Regions from separate parts of the Homo sapiens genome. Here region 1 is linked to region 2. The links are contacts of gene promoters, found by promoter capture Hi-C in human tissues and cell types (Jung and others, 2019). All regions are on one chromosome and are shown on one strand. Each heading gives the region's core, a stretch centred on a gene start or on the middle of the fragment in contact. The rest is flanking DNA. Distances are from core to core; before and after follow the strand shown. Region 1 has its middle 3.9 kb from the start of NFATC2. Region 2 holds the start of KCNG1 (potassium voltage-gated channel modifier subfamily G member 1).

Evidence for each region. The method cuts DNA at HindIII sites, captures the fragments that hold promoters and counts their contacts. A contact is called where the count stands out against the background at its distance.
Region 1: a contact is called between a fragment that was not itself captured here and the fragment with the promoter of KCNG1 in region 2, in 1 of the 25 tissues and cell types used here (lymphoblastoid cells).

Annotation. Positions count from the first base shown.
Region 1 is chr20:51,544,455-51,548,832 of GRCh38, reverse strand. It overlaps a transcript of NFATC2 not described here. Among named protein-coding and RNA genes, the nearest start is that of NFATC2, 3.9 kb to the right of the region's middle. The HindIII fragment of the contact is 6,107 bases long and covers 1-4,378 here.
Region 2 is chr20:51,020,847-51,025,198 of GRCh38, reverse strand. It overlaps KCNG1 (potassium voltage-gated channel modifier subfamily G member 1), which reads left to right and starts at 2,092. Exons shown (of 3, transcript NM_002237.4): 1 at 2,092-2,329. RefSeq lists a silencer at 1,994-2,163 and an enhancer at 3,888-4,352. The HindIII fragment of the contact is 10,697 bases long and covers 1-4,352 here.

The sequences.
Region 1 (4,378 bases), core at 1,696-4,195, 520 kb before region 2:
AAGAAGGGACTTTGGGTTCTCCTAGTGGTGCAGTTTTATTCACTGATTGATCTCAGGTAGAAGCTCTGTTGGGCGCCATTCTTCCATTCTTTCCTTCAGCTGCTTTTTAGTGAGAAGCTACCATGTACTGGGTACCAGTCTAGGATCTGGGGATACAGCTGGGGTTGCCAGATAAAAATACAGGATGTCCACTTAAATTTGAATTTCAGGTAAACAATGAATAACTTCTTAGTTTATGTCTGTCCCACATACTATTTTGGACATACTTCTTCTACTAAGAAAAGCATTCATTGTCTAAAATTCAAATTTAACTGGGTATCCTGTATTTGTATTTGCTAAACTTGGCAACCCTAGATATCCCAGGGAAGAAAACAGACAAATATCCCTGCCCTTGTGGGGACTGCATTCAAGTGAAAGGAACAGGCAATAAAAGAAATATACATATGAATAAAATACACCATAGCGGAAAGGGCAATGAGGAACATGAAGCAGGGTGAGGAGACAGAGAATGCCGGGGGATGCGATTTTTATTAGGACAGGCAGGGAAGGTCTCTAACAGGTGACTTTTGAGCTGTGAAATGAACAAAGTAAGGTAGTGGCCAGGCAATATCTGAGGGAACAGTAAGTACAAAGGCCCTGGGGTGGGGTCATGTGGGCGTTATCAAGGAACAGGCGGACGATCAGGGTGGCAGAGGGAGTAAGAGAAGGGGAGAATGGCAGGAGATGATACCCAAGGAGAGTCAGGTGGGACGTAGCTTACGTAGGGCCTTGCAGACCAAGGGCTTTGTATTTAATTTTAATTTAATGGGAAGCCACTGGAGGGTTTATCAGATGTATATTTTTTAAAGGCTCCCTCTGGTTGCTCCACATAGGGGCAAAAGTAGAAGTAGCAAGTCCAGGGAGGAGGCTTCTGCAGTTGTCCAAGTAAGAAATAATGAAGGCCTGAATTCTTGGGAGGTGGGAGGAAGAACAGTGAAGTTAGTGAGAAATGGGTGGCTTTGGGTTACATTTGGTGCAACTGCCTGCTTTTGCTGAGGGTTTGCACGTGGGCATGAGAAAAGGCGAGGACTCAAGAACCACTCTTTGGTGTTTGATTGGAGAACTGGATTACAGGCAGAGCAATACTTGAGTTGAGGCACAGTGAGGCAGGAACAGCTGGAGACGTAGGGTTTGGTTTTGGACACATTCACACTGAGGTGCCTGTTAGATGCTCCCGTGGAGATGTTGGGTCGTCATTGGATATACAAGCCTGGATTTCTGTGGAGAGGCCCAGGTTGTAGATAAAAATGAGCTTTCTACCAGAAGGTGGAAAGGAAGGCAGAGCTGTAGGTGGTGGGTAACTCCAGGGCCATCTTGAAGCAGCCTGGGGACGCAGAGCCACCTTGGGTGGTAGGAGGAGCTTCTTGAAGGCGTTTCGGGAGTCAGTGCTTCTTGACTGTTTCTATCCAGGTGGACCCAAATTATGCTCCATTTTAAGGAAGCCTAGAAGAGGAAGAGAGGTAACTCACAGAGGGACCAAAGGATGACAGTCTATGAGTCTTGTGAATCCTTCCACATTTTCTTATCTCTATGGCTACCACTTGTCTCTGTAGTCTACGCCCCCATTATCTCTTTCCTGGACGGCTATAAGAACCATCTACTTGGTCCTCCGGCTTCAACCCTTGCCCCTGCAATTTCTCATCCTCAGAGAACCCAGAGCCATCATCTAAAAACTCGTCTATGATTCTGTCATGTGCTGCCTAACACTCTCCAGTTGTTCCCAATTGCTTTCAGGTCCCAAACTCTCAACATGGTCTCCTGGGCCCCACTTACCTCCCAGCCTGATCTTACACCATCTTCTCATCCTTCCCTGAGCACCTGCCACTCCTGTCTTCTTTCGGGTCCTCCATCGTTTCATACTTTCCTCCTGCCTCAGAGCCTTTACACATACTCCCTCATCGCTCTGTTAGTACCTCCCCTCATCATTCCCTAACTAACTTCTACCAACCTTCCAGTCCCAGCTTAAACATCGCCTCCCTAGGGCAGCCTTATCTGAATTCCCTGTCTACGTCAGGTTTCCTTGACATAAGCTCTGTAACACATTCTCCTTGCCTTTCACGGCACATACCTCAGTCTGTAATTAGACTGTGGGTTAAGTGCATGTTGAAGGGAGCTGAGTTCCTGGGCCAGGGTCAAATAGTACCAATGTGTGCTAGAAGTTTCAAAGTCTCAGTGGCTTCACTAGCTTTCTGTTGCACTTCGGTTGGAGAGGCTGGGGAAAAACTCAGAGGCCAGGGTGTCCAAAGGAGGTCAGACACAGGATAGAGAGAAAGTTGACAGCGATGCCCTGTGAAGATCACCATCCCACCTCCATCCCTCCACCTCCCAGAGTCACTCTCGATGCATAAAGCTCATGCATTCTGCTCCTGGACCTTGTTCCTAAGAGCACAGATTATTTATTTTTGAATTGAAAATATGCCTTTCCCCCAGCCCAAACTCCCACCCTTCAAGGTAACCTTTAGGGAAGAAGACCCTTTTACTCCCCACTGTCCAGCAGAAACTCTTTTATGGGTTGGCACCTAGTCTGAAGCACTTCCTTTTAAAGAACTCTGACTACAATAGTCCAGACTCCAAATCCTAGAAGCTTTGAAAATATATCCACTGTTCAGAGGGACAACAAAGGCAGTTAGACTGTCCTGAACGGTCCTGCCTCAGGCTGAAATTTTTGTAGCACTTGATCAGTTGCAAAGTGATCTTCCCTTTAATATCTCATTTTATCATTGGGTATCTGAAGAGGAAGTGGAATTGGGGTAAGAATTTAGGTTCTTGCCATAGCATTTGGGTGGCCAGGGTAAGCCTCAGGGTGGAGGACCCTTAAAGAAAACTCTAAGGATTTTAAGGAGAGTCAAACTCTACATTCATCCAGGCAAACATCTACTCTTCCATTGATTAATGGATCCACTCATCCGTGCAACACATTCACTCTTTCATCCATCCATTCATCCATCTATCCTCCATCAATCCATCCATGTATCTTTCATTCATCCATTTATCCATTTATCCTCCATCCATCCGTCCATCCACCCTCCATCCACTCCTCCATCCATCATCCATCCATTCTTCCATCCATCCCCTATCCATCCATCCACCCATCTATTCATCCATCCACCCATCTTCCATCCATGCATCCATCTTCCATTCACCCATCCATCAATCCATCCCCTATCCATCCATCCACCCATCTATTCATCCATCCATCCATCTTCCATCCATGCATCCATCTTCCATTCACCCATCCATCAATCCATCTACTTATCCATCCTCCATTTATCCACACATCCATTGCACATAAAGCTGCGAATGAGGTGGTCATAGCCCCTGCCTTAGTGGATCTCAGGCTAGTTAGTGGAGATAAAATTCTCTGATTGGCGCAGTCTGGGTCATTCATCCACTTCGTTGCTTGGGGAAGGTGGGGCAGCTGGGTTGATAGCTCTACCAAGATTATGTTTAGAGTAGTTTCCCCAAGGAACACACTGGGGTGCTGTTATGAGAAGAAGGGAGGAATTATTCTGGGTAGGCACAATCAACAAATGTCCACTAGATTTAGTGGCACTTAATAATTATGGGATGGAGGGACGAGAAAGGATGTGGGGAGGCATTCCTAGCTTTTCTCCTTTTCTAAATCACAGGGGAAGCCTGGTTTTCTTGTTTATTGGCCAAAATTTCATCATCTGGACCTTGGGTCCCTGTCATAAGGACCCAGAAGAATCCATCTCTTTCTAGATACCTGTCTATAAGTATCCTAGCTGGGGTCTTCACTCTTCCTTCCTCCACCTAAATGCATCAGCTGCCCCCAAGATGCTTGTTGGATACACATGGCACAGAAGTGCTTATAGTTAGGAAACAAAGGCTGGAATTTCTTTATGCTCTGACAACCAGGAGGTGCTGCCCAAGACTCTGAAATGATTCCTGAGCCAGCCCCCAGGCCCCTGCAGTAGAGTTTGAGTCTAAACCAAAGTGGTTCTCATCTCTGGCCACACATTGGAAGCATCTGGTGAGCTTTTACAAAATACTGATGCCTAAGTCCCAACCCCAAACATTCTGATCAAATCGATGTCTGGTGGTGCTCAGGTCGTTGAATACAAATTTTAACAGCTCTCCAGGTGATTCTAATGTGTAGTCTGGGTTAAGAACCACTGGTCTGAGTGCAATTTTGAAAACCCCGTTCATAACTGTGCTACTTTGCTTTCAGGGCATAAGCATGATGAAGGGAGAGGCTGTGGCTTGTTGATGGTTGCATCCCCAACATCTTGTGGCAGTGCCAGGCAGGTGCTCAATAAATATTTGTGGAATGATGGATGGCTTGGCACAAATCCCCTTAATGGAGCTGAGATGGCTC
Region 2 (4,352 bases), core at 843-3,342:
AGTGAGCTGAGATCACACCACTGCACTCCAGCCTGGGAGACACAGAGAGACTATGTCTCAAAAAAAAAAAAAAAAAAAAAAATTTCAGATGGGAAAGGAAGGCAGAAGCCTGATCCACCACAAGAGGAGTGTTTCTCAATATGTAATCCAGGGACCCTCTGACAACAAAAGCCCACCCCACCCCACTCAGGCCCCTCCCCCACACTGCTGGTTGGTCTCTTTGATGTTTCTCAGACATGCCTCCTTCTCTCCTGCTTGAAGGCCAGTGCCTTTGATGTTCTGTCCACCTAGAAAGCTCTCTTCCCATCTTGCCAGATGGGCTCCTTCTGGCTCAGGGCTCCATGTAACCATCACCTCCACAGGAGCCCTCCCCCATTATTCTATCTAAAGTGGCCTCTCTGGCTTCATTCTGCAATCACGTATTTCAGCAGTTTCCCAATTCTGCCAAGCCCCCAGTAGAAGGTGAGCTCTTGGAAACAGGTCCTTAGGCAGATCCTTGTCTGTCCAGGCCTCCACCTCACCAGTAAGCCAGTGTTTTTATTCTTGTTGTTTTAGAGGCTGGATCTCGCTCAGTCACGCAGGCTGGATTGCAGTGGTGCCATCATAGTGCACTATAACCTGGAACTCCTATGCTCCACCCGGCTGGGACTGCCGCGCAGGCTAGTGTGCCCTGCGCTCATTTCTTAGGGTTAACCCTAACCCACTTAATGAGCACCCACGACTCCCCAACCCGAGCCCCACTCAAGCAGAAGGCCTCAGGCTGGTCGGCAGCAGGGTTTCTTCATGTCCTTTCTTGGTTCTCTGATGATAGGCAAAGGCAGTAGAGACAGAAAGGAAAAGAGGAACGGAGTGCAAGAGACAGAAAGGAGAAGAGGAACGGAGTGCAAGAGACAGAAAGGAGAAGAGGAACGGAGTGCAAGGCAAGCCACCCTAAGAGGCCAGCCCTGCCAGCAGCACAGATCCCTCCAAACCAATAGGTCCCTCCAACTCAGTAGATTCCTCCAACCCAATAGATCCCTCCAACCCAACCTCCAGCATCTGTGCAGCATCCTACCAACTCCGAGGCTAGGCGGCCACACTGGGAGCAAGACCCCAGGACCTGGTCCAAGTGCCCTGCACCGGCCAGGGGAGTGGACGACGAAGTGCGGCTCTGCTAGCCCGGGAGGGCTCTGGGGCCTCGGCCCCGCGGGACTGGAAGGGAAAACACCTGGCACGGTACGTACTGGCCCTAGGAATTTGGCACAGCAAGATGCTGGCAGTCCCTGGGTGGCGGTGGCAGGAAGGGCCCAAGGGCAACATTGGTCTAGGAGGTCGAGAAAAGGCGCGCGATATATGGCCCCCAGGATGTGGAAGCTTGCTTGGAGCGTTCGGCTCCAGGGCAGCAGCGCGTGGAGGGCCTCAAGGATGCAGTATTTGCCCGGGGTAGGGGGGCGAGGGACCCAGAGGCAGCAGTGCACTTGGACTTCCAGGACTTCCAGGGAAAGGCAGGAGACATGGCGCATGTGGTTCCCAGGATGTGTAAGCGCGTGGAGCGCGGCCCCGGGGCAGCGGAGAGTGGGGTTTTAATATCTAGCACATGTAGACCCTGGGGCGGTGCTGCTAGGGGCGCGGACCCGGGACCACCGGAGCACTTGCACCGCGGGGAAAGCTGACAGGGCGCGCGACCCTAGGAGGCTGCCGCGCCGCCTGGTGCGTGAAGCTCCAGGGCAGCGGAGCGCGGGGACCTTGAAGGCTGTCGCGTGCAGGCGAAGGGGCCGCAGGGTGGTCGCTCCTGGGAGAGCAGACGGGGAAGAAGGCAACGGGAGGGAGGGCGTAGCGCGAGCAGTCCCGGACGCGGGCTCAGGAACTGGCCGCGAGGAGCGCAATCCAGCAGGCGCGCCAGGGCCCCCGGATCCAAGGTGCGGGGTCCCGATTGGGCGCCTGGACGCCCCGTGACGGTGGCGCCGCTGCCACTGTCCCGAAGCGAGGCGAGGCCAGGCGCTGCGCTTTCGGCTGCCCGCCCCTTCTCCCCGCCCCGCGCTCAGTCCCCTCCCTCCGTCCCGCCTCCTGCCTCGCTCCCTCCCTCGGCGGCTGCTGCGCCGCGCTCCCGGCGCACTCGGAGCCCGGCGGGGACCGGGAGGCAGAGACGGGGCGGCCGTGGCTCCGAGGGCGGGAGCTGAGCCGGGCCCCGGGACCGAAGTTTGGCGGCGGCTCCGGGAGGCAGAGCGGGCTCCCCGGGCGACTTCCAGGCCCCTCTCGCGTCCTCGCCCCGGACCCGTGGGCAGCCGGGGGGAACGGAAGCCGCGGCCGGGCCAACTCCGAGGCGGGGACGCCGCGACGGGAACTTGAGGTGGGAACTTTGCGCGCTGCAGCCTCGCCGGGCGCCACCGAAGCGCGAACCGGACCCCGAGCCTGCAAACTCGGGCTCGGGGGCGGCTGCACGTGGCCGTGGCCCTGAACTCCCTGCGGGGGCCTCGAAACCCGCCTGCGGGGAGGCCAGGGCGACAGAGGACTCGGGAGTCACCGCTGGTGCGTGGCGGCGTGGAGCGCGCTTGTTACGGCCAAGGTGCGGGTCCGGCTTCGGTTCATCCCAAGGGGTCACCGGGATGCGAAGTCCGGGACGTTCGCCGCCGCGGTGACCCCGGCGGGGGCGCATCCCGGCTGTGGGCCGAGGTTTCTCCCCCGATCCTGGGAGGAAGGAGAGTTAGGGATTGGGGTGGGGGAGTGTGTGTCACTTGCTCATTCACTGTATCCTTAGGCACAGTATGGAGCCCCCCTTCACCCCCACCGTGGGCCTGATTGAGTCATTCATTATGAACACAGCAAGCGTTTATTGAGCGCCTACTGTGTGCTAGGCACTGGGGATACTGAGACAGTTCACTGGGCACCCCCAGGAACTGGTAGGAAGGTGGTGGTCTCAGCCTTAGGGTTTCCATGTGGGAGAGAGGCTCAGCCCGGAGGTATGGAAGGAAAAGGGTGAAGTTCATTCATTCATTCATAGATTGGACAAAGATTGGTTGAGCACCTATTGTAAGCAGCTCATCATACCAAGCGCTCAACAGTCATTCATCCAGTTCACAAACATTTATGGAGGCGCTATGCTGGGGAGAAGTGAAGAGGGATGGAATGGGGGCACCCTTCATGCAGCTTAGAGAGAAGTAAGGATTAAGACCCAGGCCCCCGCTTGGGAGGCCGCAGACTGCCGGGGTGGCCAACTGTAGCAGCCCATGTATATAGGCAGAAGTCTTGGTTCATCTAATGCATTCCTTCTCAAGGTGGGAGGTGTGGAAGCTGGAATTGGTTCTAGAATAGGAAGAAAAGATCTTTTCAAAGCTCCTTAGGGGCGGGTGATGGGGTAGGGTGGGGAGGAGTTGAGAAACACTGATCCGACATTACTGAGGAATGCAGGTTCCCACCAATGGGGTTTATGAGTTAGGTTGTCCATTCAGCAGGCATTTTCTTAAGCACTCGCTGTTATTAAGCACTTAAAGGGTGCCAGGCACCAAAGTTACCCAGGTAAATGACAGACACATAGAAGAGGGAGACAGACACAGACGCCCCCACCCCCTTTGCTGACTCCCTGAGATAAGTACAGGGGGAAGTAAGAGGAGGGAGCAGGAACTGGTCTGATTCATTGTGGGGTGGGGGAAGTTCCTGCCCTATGAATCTGAGCAGAGGTTTATTCATTAGTGTGTGTTTGATACCCCCATACCCATGATGGCAGAGTCCCTATGAAGAGCCTCACCGGCAGCACATCTCCAAGAAAAGTTTGGCACTGCTGATTGGGGCCTTGCGGTCGGCACTGTGGCTAGGGCATGCTGTCCTTCTTTGGGGGATTTTTCAGGCTCTGCCAGACCTGAGCTCTATTTGTGCCTCCCCCGGCTTTTGGAGCCCTGCAGAGTCGCCTGATAGGAGGGGAAGGAGGGAAGGTGTGTTTGAAAAACAGGCAAGCGCTGGCCCCTGGGGATCACCCTCCTCAGTCATTCTCGAAGCCAGCCCGTTCCACGGGAAAGATGTCTGTCCTGGGACACACTCCTAACCTGCAGGGAACTGCAAGCACACTGGAAACGAGGCAACCTAGGTTCTTCTCCTGAGACTTGAGAGCCCAGGCCCGCAGCCTACAGCCTGGGTTGTCAAACCTTGGGAGTAAAAAAATCAACCAAACCCCTAGTTTTGCCAAACTCTGGGTTGCCTTTTTGGCCTCTGGGAGGGAGATGTGACATGGGAGGCAGAGGTTACTTGCTTCTCCCCATCCCCAAAGACTTTCCCGAAGCTTGTCCTGGAGCCTGATTGGGGCAGATCTGAGCACCACTTTGAATTCTCTGCACCAGACCCACAGCTGGGCTCTGGCAAGAGGTGAGGGAGGTGCCTCA